3 separate regions of the Homo sapiens genome follow, and all the other regions are linked to region 3. Evidence: promoter capture Hi-C in human tissues and cell types (Jung and others, 2019). All regions are on one chromosome and are shown on one strand. Each heading gives the region's core, a stretch centred on a gene start or on the middle of the fragment in contact. The rest is flanking DNA. Distances are from core to core; before and after follow the strand shown. Region 1 holds the start of ZNF773 (zinc finger protein 773). Region 2 holds the start of ZNF530 (zinc finger protein 530). Region 3 overlaps ZNF547 (zinc finger protein 547).

The links. The method cuts DNA at HindIII sites, captures the fragments that hold promoters and counts their contacts. A contact is called where the count stands out against the background at its distance.
Region 1: a contact is called between the fragment with the promoter of ZNF773 here and a fragment that was not itself captured in region 3, in 2 of the 25 tissues and cell types used here (dorsolateral prefrontal cortex and liver).
Region 2: the fragment with the promoter of ZNF530 here is called in contact with a fragment that was not itself captured in region 3 in 7 of the 25 tissues and cell types used here (bladder, dorsolateral prefrontal cortex, heart left ventricle and 4 more).

Annotation. Positions count from the first base shown.
Region 1 is chr19:57,497,285-57,501,868 of GRCh38, reverse strand. ZNF773 (zinc finger protein 773) reads right to left here and starts at 1,931. Exons shown (of 4, transcript NM_198542.3): 1 at 1,756-1,931. The coding sequence starts at 1,788. The HindIII fragment of the contact is 9,164 bases long and covers 1-4,584 here.
Region 2 is chr19:57,597,484-57,601,508 of GRCh38, reverse strand. ZNF530 (zinc finger protein 530) reads right to left here and starts at 1,624. Exons shown (of 4, transcript NM_001321981.2): 1 at 1,375-1,624; 2 at 730-781. RefSeq lists enhancers at 1,157-1,276, 1,367-1,576. The HindIII fragment of the contact is 9,316 bases long and covers 1-4,025 here.
Region 3 is chr19:57,368,493-57,372,904 of GRCh38, reverse strand. It overlaps ZNF547 (zinc finger protein 547), which reads right to left. Exons shown (of 4, transcript NM_173631.4): 2 at 4,326-4,361; 3 at 997-1,123. The coding sequence starts at 4,349. Among named protein-coding and RNA genes, the nearest start is that of ZNF547, 7.1 kb to the right of the region's middle. The HindIII fragment of the contact is 8,803 bases long and covers 1-4,412 here.

The DNA of each region.
Region 1 (4,584 bases), core at 682-3,181, 130 kb before region 3:
AGAATAGCCAGCAAGGAGTCCCAAGACACCATAATTCTGAAGACCATGTAGGTAGGAGTTGAGGAGGGTGAGGGCCTGAGACATCCTCCACTTACCTTCTCATGGTCTATAACTAACTCTGAAGTCACAAGAACCTATGGAAAATCAAGACCATGAGAACCAGACAGTGATGTTACCAAAGGATCATCCAAGCCCCCTCGTCTAGCCTGGAGTCAGGTGTGCCTGACTATCTGCAATCTGGGCTTTGGTTCTTAGTGATGCCTCTTACCTGTTGTGTGCCCTTGGAAAAATGCTCAACTTCCCTGTGCCTTGGTATTGCCATCTGCAACATGGCAATAATGGTATTCACTCAATAGGACTATTGTTTGTATCAAACTCATTCTTATGTGTCTAGGACTAAATATCAACTCTTACTGTACACATAATTAATGCTTCTGTCAACATTTTCAGTGCAAATAAACTGGTAGGTTTTCAAAATGTGGGTTTCTGCCTGGGTGCAGTGGCTCAAGCCTGTAATCCCAACACTTTGGGAGGCCGAGGTGGGCAGATCACAAGAGCAGAATTCTGTCTCAAAAAAAAAAAAAAAAGAAAGAAAAAGAAAGACAATGTGGGTTTCCTTTTGGCAATCTGGCTGCCTGCTATATACTCCCCTGAAGACCATCCTGCTGAGAGCCCTCCCTTCTACTGGAGCAGTTGATCATCCCACCTGTGCTGATAGCTAGGGAAACTTAGGCACCAAAGGTGCTGCTCCACCAGCCTGGCTGACCTTTCCTTTTCTCCATATGGACTGGACATGAGGAACTACTAAGCCTGGAGTGGCAAACCTATATACTACCCAACACTGCGGTCTCCATCCAGTCCTGGGTGTTCATACTCTATAACCCTCCATTCCTGCAGGCACCAGACAAAATCACTTCGGACCACGAAACTCCAGGCTGTAGAGGCTGCCCCATCCTACAGGCCCATCTCTCCCTTCCCTCACCTCAGGGACCATCTGAAAGAAAACTTTAAGATTCTCCCTCCTAAATACGAGCCCCAGGCCTTCCAGCTGCTCATGTGGACATGACACCTCCACTCTGGGACATCTCAGGATCACCATGCCCAAAACCTATTCCCTGCACAGCCTTACCCATCTCCATCCTTCCTGATATTCAGGAACAAACAAAAATACAAATAAAAATCCAGAATGGCTCTTCATTCCCTACTTTCTTTCACAGTCACATCTGATGCAACAGGAATTCCCGTCTGTTCAGTTTTTGAAATCCATCCAAGATCTGATCACTTCCCCTCCTCTGTGGCCCAGTCCCAGTAGACTCTCCACTAGTCTACTGAATTTACCTACTCACAGGTCTGTCTTCACCCGCCTCACCCCCACCCCAGTCTGTTTTGACTTGAAGGGCCTTTGGCAAACTTTGAGAAACAGATCTTGTCACTCTTCTGTCTCCAGCCCTCCGCGGCCACTGTGGCCCCCTCAGGATGAAAGCGCAGCTGCTCGGGCTGTCGCTCGACACGCGCCTCGTCCCTTCCCAAGCTGCCCACTACAGACACCAGGAGGCCTCAGGTTCGGGACTCGCTGAATGCGCCTCACATCTTTGCGAGCCGGGCCCCTTGCCCTCCATTGCCACCCCATCACACTGCGTGTCAGAAACGGGACGCCGCCCACGAACGCCCCACAGTTCTGCACCCGGGGACCTGAGCAGGCGGCCCTCACAGGGCTTTAGGATTCGGGGGAGGCCGGGAGGACGCGGCGCTCACCTGAGCGGGGTCCCTCAGCGTGGCCGCCGCCATCGGAGCCTGTGGCGGTGAGACAACGACCGAGGAAAGGGCCCGGGCCACCCTGGGCGCCGCCACCGAGCCTCAGACCCGCCTCTGAGCTGCGAGAACACAGCGCGTCCCCACCGCGCTTTCCGGAGCTGGTCGCCGCAGCGAACAACCAGCTTCCGGCAAGCTGAGTTCTCTTGAGGGCAGCGAAAGCAACCGCCGAGGGGAGACGCCGGAAGTCCCGCCCATTGCGCGTCGCACTCTCGGGTAGACCTCTTTTCATTGGCCAAGCATCGCGGCTCACGGCGCGGCGCCTTCTGGGCAGTGTAGTTCGCGTGGCTCCAAACTTCGAGGAAGTGGGCATAACTTCGGAGATGGAGATTGGAGACGGTAGATGATGGAGATGGAGATGGAGATGGAGATGATGGAGATGATGGAGATGGAGATGATGGAGATAGAGATGATGATGGAGATGGAGATGATGGAAATGGAGATGATGAAGATGGAGATGATGGAGAAGATGGAGATGATGGAGAAGATGGAGATGATGGAGAAGATGGAGATGGAGATGATGGAGTAGGAGATGGAGATGGAGATGATGGAGATGATGGAGATGGAGATGATGGAGATAGAGATGATGATGGAGATAGAGATGATGATGGAGATGGAGATGATGGAGATGGAGATGATGGAGATAGAGATGATGATGGACATGGAGATGATGGAGATGGAGATGATGATGAAGATGGAGATGATGGAGAAGATGGAGATGGAGATGATGGAGTAGGAGATGGAGGAGAAATGAGTGTCGAGAACTCTCGGACTCATCTGGAACCTGTTGTAATTGGAGATGGGCCTGGATTTCAGTTTCCTGCAGCTGATACTCCAATCTTTCCTTCTTTTGAAGGACTTGAAGAGGATCTTCAGGGCCACCATAAAGAGGTTTCACTGGGCAAAGCCACGTATACCTTCCTAAATTTCCTTTGGCAAGGGGACACCCAATATTAATGCCTGATGTATGATAATAAGAAAAGGCTCTGAATTCTGGATGTAGGTGATGAGAGAGTAGGGGAGCCCAAGGATTTACGTTCCTCTTTCACCCCATTCTCATTTGTGTTCTTTCCTTCCTCAAGGACCCAACATTGGTGTAAAGGCACAACAACAGGCAGCAAACCCATAAGCCAACTCCCCCTCAATTTCTCCCCTTCATCCATTTCTGCTCCATATTCCTGTCACAGTTACTATGGGACTGAACGAAGGGGAACGAATGCAGAAATGAAAACAAAGGCAAAATAAATCTGTTTTAAAGAAGGGGTCAGGGGGCTTCTTGCTTCTAGTGAGGAAGGGCCCTGAGCTTCCACAGACCTTCATATTTATTGGGTAGAAAGAGTAGGGAGGTGGTGGCTTACGCCTGTAATCCCAGCACTTTGGGAGGCCAAGGCGGGTGGATCACAAGGTCAGGAGATCGAGACTATCCTGGCTAACACGGTGAAACCCCGTCTGTACTAAAAAATACAAAAAATTAGCCGGGTGTGGTAGCAGGTGCCTGTAGTCCCAGCTACTCGGGAGGCTGAGACGGGAGAATGGCATGAACCCGGGAGGTGGAGCTTGCAGTGAGTGGAGTTCATGCCACTGCACTCCAGCCTGGGCGACAGGGAGAGAATCCGTCTCAAAAACAAAAAAAAAGAAAAGAAAATATCGCTCTGGTTTTGTAATGATAAAATAGAACCTACATATATTTTGTGTTATGCATTCTTGGCATACCTATTTCAATGAATTCTGGTTTTTTGAAATTGTCTCAAATATTCAAAAATTTTTTCCAGTATATTTATTGAAAAACATTCACATATAATTGGACCTGTGCATTTCAAACCTGTGTTATTTAAGGGTCAGCTGTACTGTCATGAAACCACCAACACAGTCATGATAGAGAAAATTACCATTGCCTGATAACGTTTTCCTGTACTCTTTCAGTCAGAACCTTCCCCCTCAGACCGCAGGCTCAATAACCAGTGATCTGCATTCTTTTACTCTAGTTTTGCAGCTTCTTCATTTCATATAAATGGAATCATACTGTATGTCAACTTTTGTGTCTGGCTTCTTCCACTTGGCTCAGGGATTTTCAGATTTATCTATGATATTTTTACTTGTATTCATAGTTTATTCTTTTATGTTGTTGAATGGTATTTTATGTTAAGATATACCATAATTGATTATTCATTCTTCTGTTCACGGAAATTTTAGTTTGTGTGTGTGTGTTTTAAAAACAAATTCTGGTGTTTGGGTTTTATAAATAAAACTGCTGAGCATGCAAGTGTAAGTATTTCTAGAACATATGCTTTTGTTCTCTTGGGGATATCCCAATAGGTAAGATTCCTAAACTATATGGTAAGCTTATGCTACCTTTAAAGCTGCTACACTGTTTTCTGAAGTTGTTTTACTACTTTTGCAACTTTCTTGAAAAGAGATTGACAATAGAGTGTTGTGTGAGTGTATTTCTGGGTTCTCTGTTCTCTTCTGTTCATCTCTGTCCTTTAGCTAATACTGTACTCTCAATTACTGTACGTTTGTATGTCCTAAAGTCATAAAGATTTTCAAACTTATTCTTATTTATAAAATTGTTTTGGCAATTAGTCCAGGCCCTTTGTATTTCCATGTAACTTTTTAGAATACATTTGTAAATTTTTATTTAAAAGATTAGGTTTTTATTAGGATAGTTAAAGGAAAACTGACAACTTCAAAGTATTAAGTCTCAGATTCAGGAACTTCTTGTGTCATTTATTTATGCCTTGTTTAATGTCTCTCAGGAATGTTTTAAAGTTC
Region 2 (4,025 bases), core at 375-2,874, 230 kb before region 3:
ACACATTCCTGATGTCCTGAGTGAAAAACAATTCTACTATCTACTTGGCTCTCCCAGTAGATGGAGCTTCTATGCTTCCAGCTACTAAACTCAAAAAGCCTTGAGTCACCCCTTCTTATCTCTCAGTCCCAATACCAGAAAATCAGAGCCGACCTACAATCCAAAATTCAACCATTTCTGCCACACTGTGGCCACTACTCTGGCCCACATCATCTACACTCACCTGGACTATTGCAGTAGTCTCCTCTTTCCTCTTTGGTATTGCTACCAACTCCCTTAAACCCACAGTCTGTTGTCTGTGCTCAGCCACAGGAGCCTCATGAGGCCTGGGGAAGATCACCTCCCTCTTCTGCTCCAAATCTTCATTGCTGCCATCATCTCCAGAACAAAGACATCTGAGACAGCCATTTAGTTTCTAACTCCTGTACCTCTGCTCTCTGTTCCCATGAGAAGGAAATGAGACTTGAGGTTCTCTTAACCAGCTCAGCCTCACCTCCAAGCAGCTCCAAACACCTGTACTTATCTCTGGGACAAACTTCCACATTCATCCTATTATTTGCCAGCAACAGGCACCACCTCATATAATACTCACCCTGGACATATTTTTGTTCAGAGTCCCTAGGCTCAAGGCCTGGAAAAGCGGTAAGTAAAGAATCCCAGGTCACCACAGTCCCAATCCTAGAGATCCCATTGCTGGAATCAATGAGCTTCTGGATTTCCTCCACTTACCCTTGTAGGGTCTTCAAGTGCTTCTTACGGACCTGTAAGTACTAGTGGCAATCTGTGGGAGGAAACATGTTCTGAGAGGCAGGTGACCAAAGTGTGGCTCCATGGACTTCTGGTTCCAATGTGGAACACCAGAGCCAGGTGTCCAGGGATGACTGCTTTGTATCTGGGTGTCAGTCCTTGGTGCTGACTTTTACCAGCTTTGTGACCTCGTAAAAAGACTAGGTCCCTCCATGCCTGCTATCATCACTGCCCTTCCAGCGCGTTCCTCTGAACAGCTTTTGTGAAACTTTTAGAAGCGTGACTGGGGCCGTGCCCCTCTTCTGTCCTACGCGCTGTGGCCCTCAGTGTGCTGGTGAAACTCAGTGGGGCCAATGCAGCGCGGCGCTGCCCCACCCTCTGCTACCTGCACGCGTGAGGCCGGCCTGGGTCTCCCCAGCCTCCCGGCTCAGGCGCAGCTCCAAGCTGTTGCCCGCGCAGCCCCCTGACCGTGTCGCTCTCCCGCTCCCTGCCACACTACCAGAAACGAGATCCAGCACCAGCGCCTCACTGTGCCGGACAGTGCGGTCCGGGCTGCAGAAAACCCTTCACGCGTCCCTCAGTTTCGGGTGGGGAGGGCAGAGGAGGCCGGGAGGACGCAGCGCTCACCTGGGTCGGGGCCCTCAGTGCCGCCGCCATCGGACTCTGGGCGGAGCGGGCCGGGAGCGGTGGACGATCCGGGCGGAGACAAGAGCAAAGCTGTCACCACCGCCGGCGACCGTCAGGCCCCGGCTGTGCAGCTGAGAAAACGACTCTCCTCGCGCCTTCTCGCTGTCAGCACCTAGGTCCAGATCCGGCACCCGCGGATGGAACTGACACAAGCCAAAGTGCCCGCCACAGGGAGGACGCCGGAAGTTCCGCTCCGACAAGTTGGACAGAGCGGAAATGTCCCTCCCCTGAGCCTCATTGGCTCCACGCCAAGAACCTGGCTCACGGGCCTCTGGGTAATGTAGTTCTCACCGCTTCTTGGGCTGGCAGAGGTCGCCCTTCTCCTGGACCTCAGGGAGGAATGACCCCGTTGCTATGGAGAAAGGTGGAGGGGAAGGCTGAGAGGTGGTGTCTCCAGCCTCCTTGGACAAGGGAGGAGCTTCGCTGCTTTTTTAAGGTACCATACAGAGATTTTTGGAGGGTATTGTGTACAACTAGTCACCTAGGTAGTCAGAGTTATTCAGATACAAAATGCCTCTACCCTTGGCGAGAGCCTAGTAAACATTACCTTCTTTCTCCACACATTTATGTAAAGTAGAACGTTAGAGTCAGCTTTGTGAGTTTCATTATGCTCAGTAAGGAATAAGGGAAATAGAGTTTACATAGCGCCATGACAGGAATGATAAAACATCCGTTAGATCGCACCGAAGCTGGAGGACGAAAGAGGAATTTTGTCTCACAGAAAATGCCTCTCCTGCCTGTGTAATCGGTGAGTGTGTCTAGCCCTGTAAGGAACAGTGTTGTATTCATATAATATTTCTTCCTCCATATTCTTAGATATGCTTCTTTTAGGATTGTAGCAACTTTCTAAACAGAAGAGCCACTTAGCATATGCCATTTTAAAGTAGAACAGTGTCTGTAGTGTTCACAGTCAGAGCACTTGTGCAAAGGGGACATCAGAATACCAGAATAAAGGTTTGGGACACCTAGCTTTCATCTCTTTGATGGGAAATTTTGATCATTGATACTGTTACTGCAGGGACAGTGCTTGCATGGGGAGTTGAGATCATCTTAGAAAAACAGTTGTGAAATGAAAATTACTGAAACCTATTGTATTAGTCAGGATTCTCCAGAGAAACACAGAACCAATAGGATACATAGATGTACAAGAGGGGATTTATTATGGGACTTGGCTCATCCAGTTATGGAGGCTAAGAAGTCCCAGGATATACCTTTTGCAACCTGGTAAGACACGAAGGTGGGTGGTATCATTCAGTCTGCATCTGAAGGCCTGAAAACCAAGGGAGCCTATGGTGAAATTCCCAGTTGGAGGCTGAAGGCCTGAGAACTGGGTGAGGGTCATTCTTGTATGTTCCAGAGTCCAAAGGCCCAAGATCCAAGAACTTTAATGTTGGAAAACAGAAGGTGGATGATCCAGGGCAAGAAGAGAGTAACTTGCTCTTTCTCTGCCTTTTTGTTCTATCTTGGCTCTCAAAGCATTGGATGTTGGCCCCTAACACTGATGAGGCCAGATCTCCTTTACATTGTCTACAGACTCAACTGCTAATATCTTCCATAAACATTCTCACAGACATATCCTGTACTAAGGTTTTCCCAACTATTTGGGTAGCCCTTAATGCAGGCAAGTCGACACAAAACATTATACGTCACAACTATTAATAATCTTGTGGCTAGGCCAAGCGCGGTGGCTCATGCCTGTAATCCCAGCACTTTAGGAGGCCAAGGCAGGTGGCTCATGAGGTCAAGAGATCAAGACCAGCCTGGCCAACATGGTGAAGCCCTGTCTCTACTAAAAATACAAAAATTAGCTGGGTGTGGTGGCGTGCGCCTGTAGTCCCAGCTACTTGGGAGGCTGAGGCAGGAGAAGCGCTTGAACCCAGGAGGTGGAGGTTGCAGTGAGCCGAGATCACACCACTGCACTCCTGCCTGGTGACAGAGTGAGACTCCATCTCAGTAGAGAGAAAAAAAAAAAGAATATTGAACATAATTAATTGAACTGAACATAGACTTACTTTGCTTTTTTTAGTGCAGTCATATATAAGTCTATAAGTACATTTGGCTTGGCTCTGGAAATGTTTACCCTGAAGACACATAGAGCAGATAGCTCTTCAGTTGCTGAATTTAAGTCCTGTCTGAAAAGGAAAGGGAGAAGGTGTGGCTCCAGCATGATTTCATATAGAAAGGTAAGTGGGGAGCCCTTCTGAGTGACTCCACAAAGGACTCATTTTGCCTGCATATTTGAGTGTCTAATGGTAATTTTTTTTTTTTGAGGAAGAGTCTTGCTCTGTTGCCCAGGCTGGAGTGCAGTGGCAGGATCATAGATTACTGCAGCCTCAAACTCTTCGGCTTCAGCGACATTTCTGTGTCAGCTTCCTGAGTATATGGGATTGCAGGCACTCACTACTGTGCCCAGCTAATTTTTAAAATATATATATATTTTTTTTTTACAGACAGGGTTCTTGCTATGTTGCCCAGGCTGGTTTAAAACTCCTGGTCTCAAGTGATCCTTCCGCCTCAGCCTCCCAAGTAGCTGGGGCTACAGGTACACACAGCTCTTATGGCAATTTCTTAGGCCAATAGTCAAAGTAGGG
Region 3 (4,412 bases), core at 1,913-4,412:
AAATGGCTTTCCACAGGCCATGGCTGCTGGTGACTAGTGAGCAGTGTGTAGAAGGCTGTGTCTAAACCCAGAGAGATCTGATTGTGACAGAGGAGATGGTGTTCAGGGACTACTGACAAATACATGCAGACCTCACCTTAAGTACAGGTCATGCAGTGGATGGCACTGCAGAGGGAGCAGTTGAAGAAAATAGGTAACGGCTGGAAGCCAGGGATTAGAAGTCAGAGTAAAAATGACAACGGGGGAAGGAAAAGAAGAGTGAGTTGTGGCAACCAGTCTTCAACTAAACAACAGGGGTCACCAGACAGATTCCTAGTAATATGACCCCAGCTGTGATATTACACCTTTTCCCAACTCCCAGGAACCAGGATCATGTCCCTCTGAGTCTCTACAGCCCTTCAGGGAGTAATATCCACCCTCTTGGGTACCAGGGCCCTCCCCATTGCTTAAGGTGACAGTCTGTGAGACCTGAAAGAGACCAGTCCTAGGGGAAAGACACAGAAAGAGACAAGACAGCACATTCCCAGAGAGATCACCTGATGATATCTCACATTCGATAATCACCAGAACTTCACAGAAGATTTCTACATCCTACACAATCAAGCCAGTGGTTCACCAAATTAGTGATCAGGTCAGTGCCAGAAATTCCAGGAACAAGAAGGGACCAAGAAATATTGGCAAGAGCAAGGGAACAACAGAGCACAGAGGTCTCATGCATTTGAATAGAACACAGGGCCAGTGGGTCTCTATGTCACCTTCAACATTTCTGGATCCTGAGCCCTTTCTTGCAAGCCTCAGAACAGCAGAGGATGGGGCTGCCAGGAAAAAGGAAGCACACAGCACATATTGCAGTCCTGACTCTCATGGAACATATGTCAGGAAACAAGGAAAAGAAGCAGCACCCATGGTCTCACTGTGGGAAACGCAGAGCTGCCTTCAGGTAAAAGGAGACAACACAGCCCAACCCAGGACACTGGGCAAGTGTGAGGGCCTTACCTAGTGAGGACAAAAGGGCCAAATTCTCCAGCATCACATCACGGTACAGCAATCTCTGAGCCTCATCGAGATGCCCCCACTCCTCCTGGGAGAAATATATGGCCACGTCTTCAAAAACCACATGACCCTGCCAAATTGGGAAAGATGAATACATGAGCAGCTTTTCAAACTGTATTTACTTAAGTTCTCTATTTATTTTCTACTTATATTTACCACCCATTAAACACAGGGACAAACTAACAGCTAAATGTGTTTCCATCTCCCCTACCATCCTGGGCACATATTCTTAACCATCTCCATCTCTAACTTTCTCAAACCAAGTCAGTATTTCCCATGCTCTAAATCAACCCAGGGACAGGTACTGCACAACTAGGGACAGTCCCAATAGCCCAGGTGTCCTGGAATTACTAAAACTAGCCAAACTATCCTGACAGCCAGCCCTGCCTTGTTTCCCTTGGAAACCCCAACAGCATCTGTGGACTAAACTAAACTCACTCCAATTTTCCTCCTGATCAAATCTGGTGTTTCACCGTGTGGCCCTGTGTTATGTGGTATGTAACCTCCTTAGGGAAACGTAAGGAATAAATATCTTCTTTCAGTGTCATTGGCCTGTCCCTGGCATCACTCACTCACATCCATAAATTAAAACTCCATGGGGGCCAGGCACAGTGGCTCATGCCTATAATCCCAGCACTTTGGGAGGCTGAGGCGGGCAGATCACCTGAGGTCAGGAGTTCAAGACCAGCCTGGCCAACACAGTGAAATCCCATCTCTACTAAAAATACAAAAATTAGGTGGGCATGGCGGCACATGCCTGTAGTCCTAGCTACTTGGGAGATTGAGGCAGAACTGCTTGAATCCAGGAGGTGCAGGTTGCAGTGAGCCAAGATCATGCCACTGCACTCCAGCCTGGGTGACAACACAGCAAGACTCCATCTAAAAAAAAAAAAACAAAAAACCCCAATGGGTACAATCACTGCTACTTTTCTCTCTCCAGGAACTCATCCCTCTCCCCTACACCTCCTTTCCTTCCTCAATCTCTACACCCTCCCAATGTGGAAGAGAAACCACATCCAGGTGGCATGAGTGACTTTTCTCTCCATATTGACATTGGCCACCGTGTCCAGCACACAGAGGAAACAGATGGAAGATAAGGTAGAAAAGGAATGTGGGCCTCCCGTGGGGGGATCCATCCTCTCCTGCCAGCCAGTTTCCATGGAGTCACCCAGATCTTGCCTCCCAAGACAACCAAACTCAGACTCATCCTCCTCCCTTGAGCTACCAGGGCCAGGGCCTGAGGCCCTCCATTCACACTCCTCCTGCCTGCACATCACTCTTTGGACAGCACTCCAATCCCATCTCTCACACCTCCACTCCAGTCAATTCCACAGACACCTCCCAGCCCACACCACAGGCATTTCCTTCACCTCCTAACAGGCCACTCTGCACACAGAAACCAGGTGGTGCACGGCAAATACGCTCAGCATCCAATTCACTCCCAGTCCTGCCCCAGAACACCAAAGTTCCCTAGCACCGGGGGCAGCCCTAAGCCCTGGGTTGAAGGTTCCCTACATGGCCCTGTTTCTCACTTCACTGTCAGGTGCCCAAACCATGTGAGGACTTCACATACTCTCAGCTGTGTCCTGCCTCATGGACACAGGATTGTAAGTTTCCTGAGGCCTCCGAGTTATGCTTCCTGTTAAGCCTGAAGAACTATGGGCTGGGTGCGGTGGCTCACGCCTGTAATCCCAACACTTTGGGAGGCTGAGGAGGATGGATCACGAGGTCAGGAGATCAAGACCATCCTGGCCAACATGGTGAAAGCCCATCTCTACTAAAAATACAAAAATTAGCTGGGCGTAGTGGGGTGAGTCTGTCGTCCCAGCTATTCAGGAGGCTGAGGCAGAAGAATCGCTTGAACCTGGCAGGGAGAGATTGCAGTGAGCCGAGATTGTGCCACTGCACTCCAGCCTGGGCCACATCTCAAAAAAAAAAAAAAAAAAAAAAAAGAACTGTGAGTCAATTAAACTTCTTTTCTTCATAAAGTACCCAGTCTCAGGTAGTTCTTTGTAGCAATATGAAAACAGACTAATAGAATTCCCATCCTCATCTCATTCCAACTGATGCTTAGCAACTCTCCGACCTCACCCTATTACCCTCCTCAGCAACCCCATCATGTCCACTCTCCTTCAGAAGTCTTTCTCACTCCTATACCCCACCATCTCACATACACTCATCCCCACAAACACTCCATTCCCTCATTTGTCTAGTGACTCCTCCACCACTGCACAGCTACCCAGTAAGAGACCCAGTTCTCATGCCCCATTCCAATTCTCTGTCTTCGAACAGCACTGCCACCATAACCTAGAGATGCTGTCACCTAAACTGAATCCATGGCTTCATCCTGGTCCATACGACAGCCACCATAGTGTGGACGTCTCCAACCTGAACTCCTCCACCAGGAGTCTCTGAGACATCTGTGGCTTGAACAAACACTGACTCCTCACACTCACTCTGAAAATTCCTAATACTGCTGACTTCTCCCATCTTAGCTGATGGAGCATCTATGCTTCCAAACAAAAACCATGGGGCCACTCCTGATTCCCCTTCTATCCCACCCCCCCAGCTGCCTCACTCTCTACATCATAAAATGTGGGCAGCTCCAGTTCAAAACACATCCTGAAGCCACCGCTACTCTTGACAAGTCACCACCAACATCCACCTAGACTGCTGCAGGAACATCCTCTCAGATCTCCCTGCCATTACCCTCACCTCCACAGTCTGTCCTCCACTCAGACGCCAAAGAAAGTTCCTTAAGCTAGGGTCCTATCACTGCCCTCTTCTGCTTCAAATCTTCCCCATCTACCACCTCCCTTAGATTAGAGACCCAGGACCTAGGCTGTCATTCCAGGCCTGATGTTTGTGTGTCTCTAGCCACCTCCCACTCTGCTCCCTATTCCTATCCGATATAACAGACACTTGCAGTTCCCTAAAAATCCAGTTCAGTCTCTCCTCTAAACACTGAAACATTCTTAATCTTGTGCCCATGACACTCTGACAGATGTTACCACGTCAACTGTCAAAAATGGGAGCCACTCCACATAATCCAGGGCCATCCAGGTAAGGTGTCACAGTAAACTTAAAACAATCAAACAAAAATCCCAGACCTAATTTAAGATACTAGAACTGGTGGAATCACTCACTTTTCAGACATAAGAGAGGGAGAAAGACAGAAAGAGAGTCTCTGGACACCACTTTTCTTTACATGGAGGTGCCAAAACCATCTATGAGATAACTGGTAGGTGAAAGGTAGAAAACACTCCACTCACCTGTGCAGGGTTCATTTCTGCCATCGCCAGGGGACCCTGAAGGAAGAGGGAAACCGTGAGAAATGGGCAACGATGGGAAGATCTTAC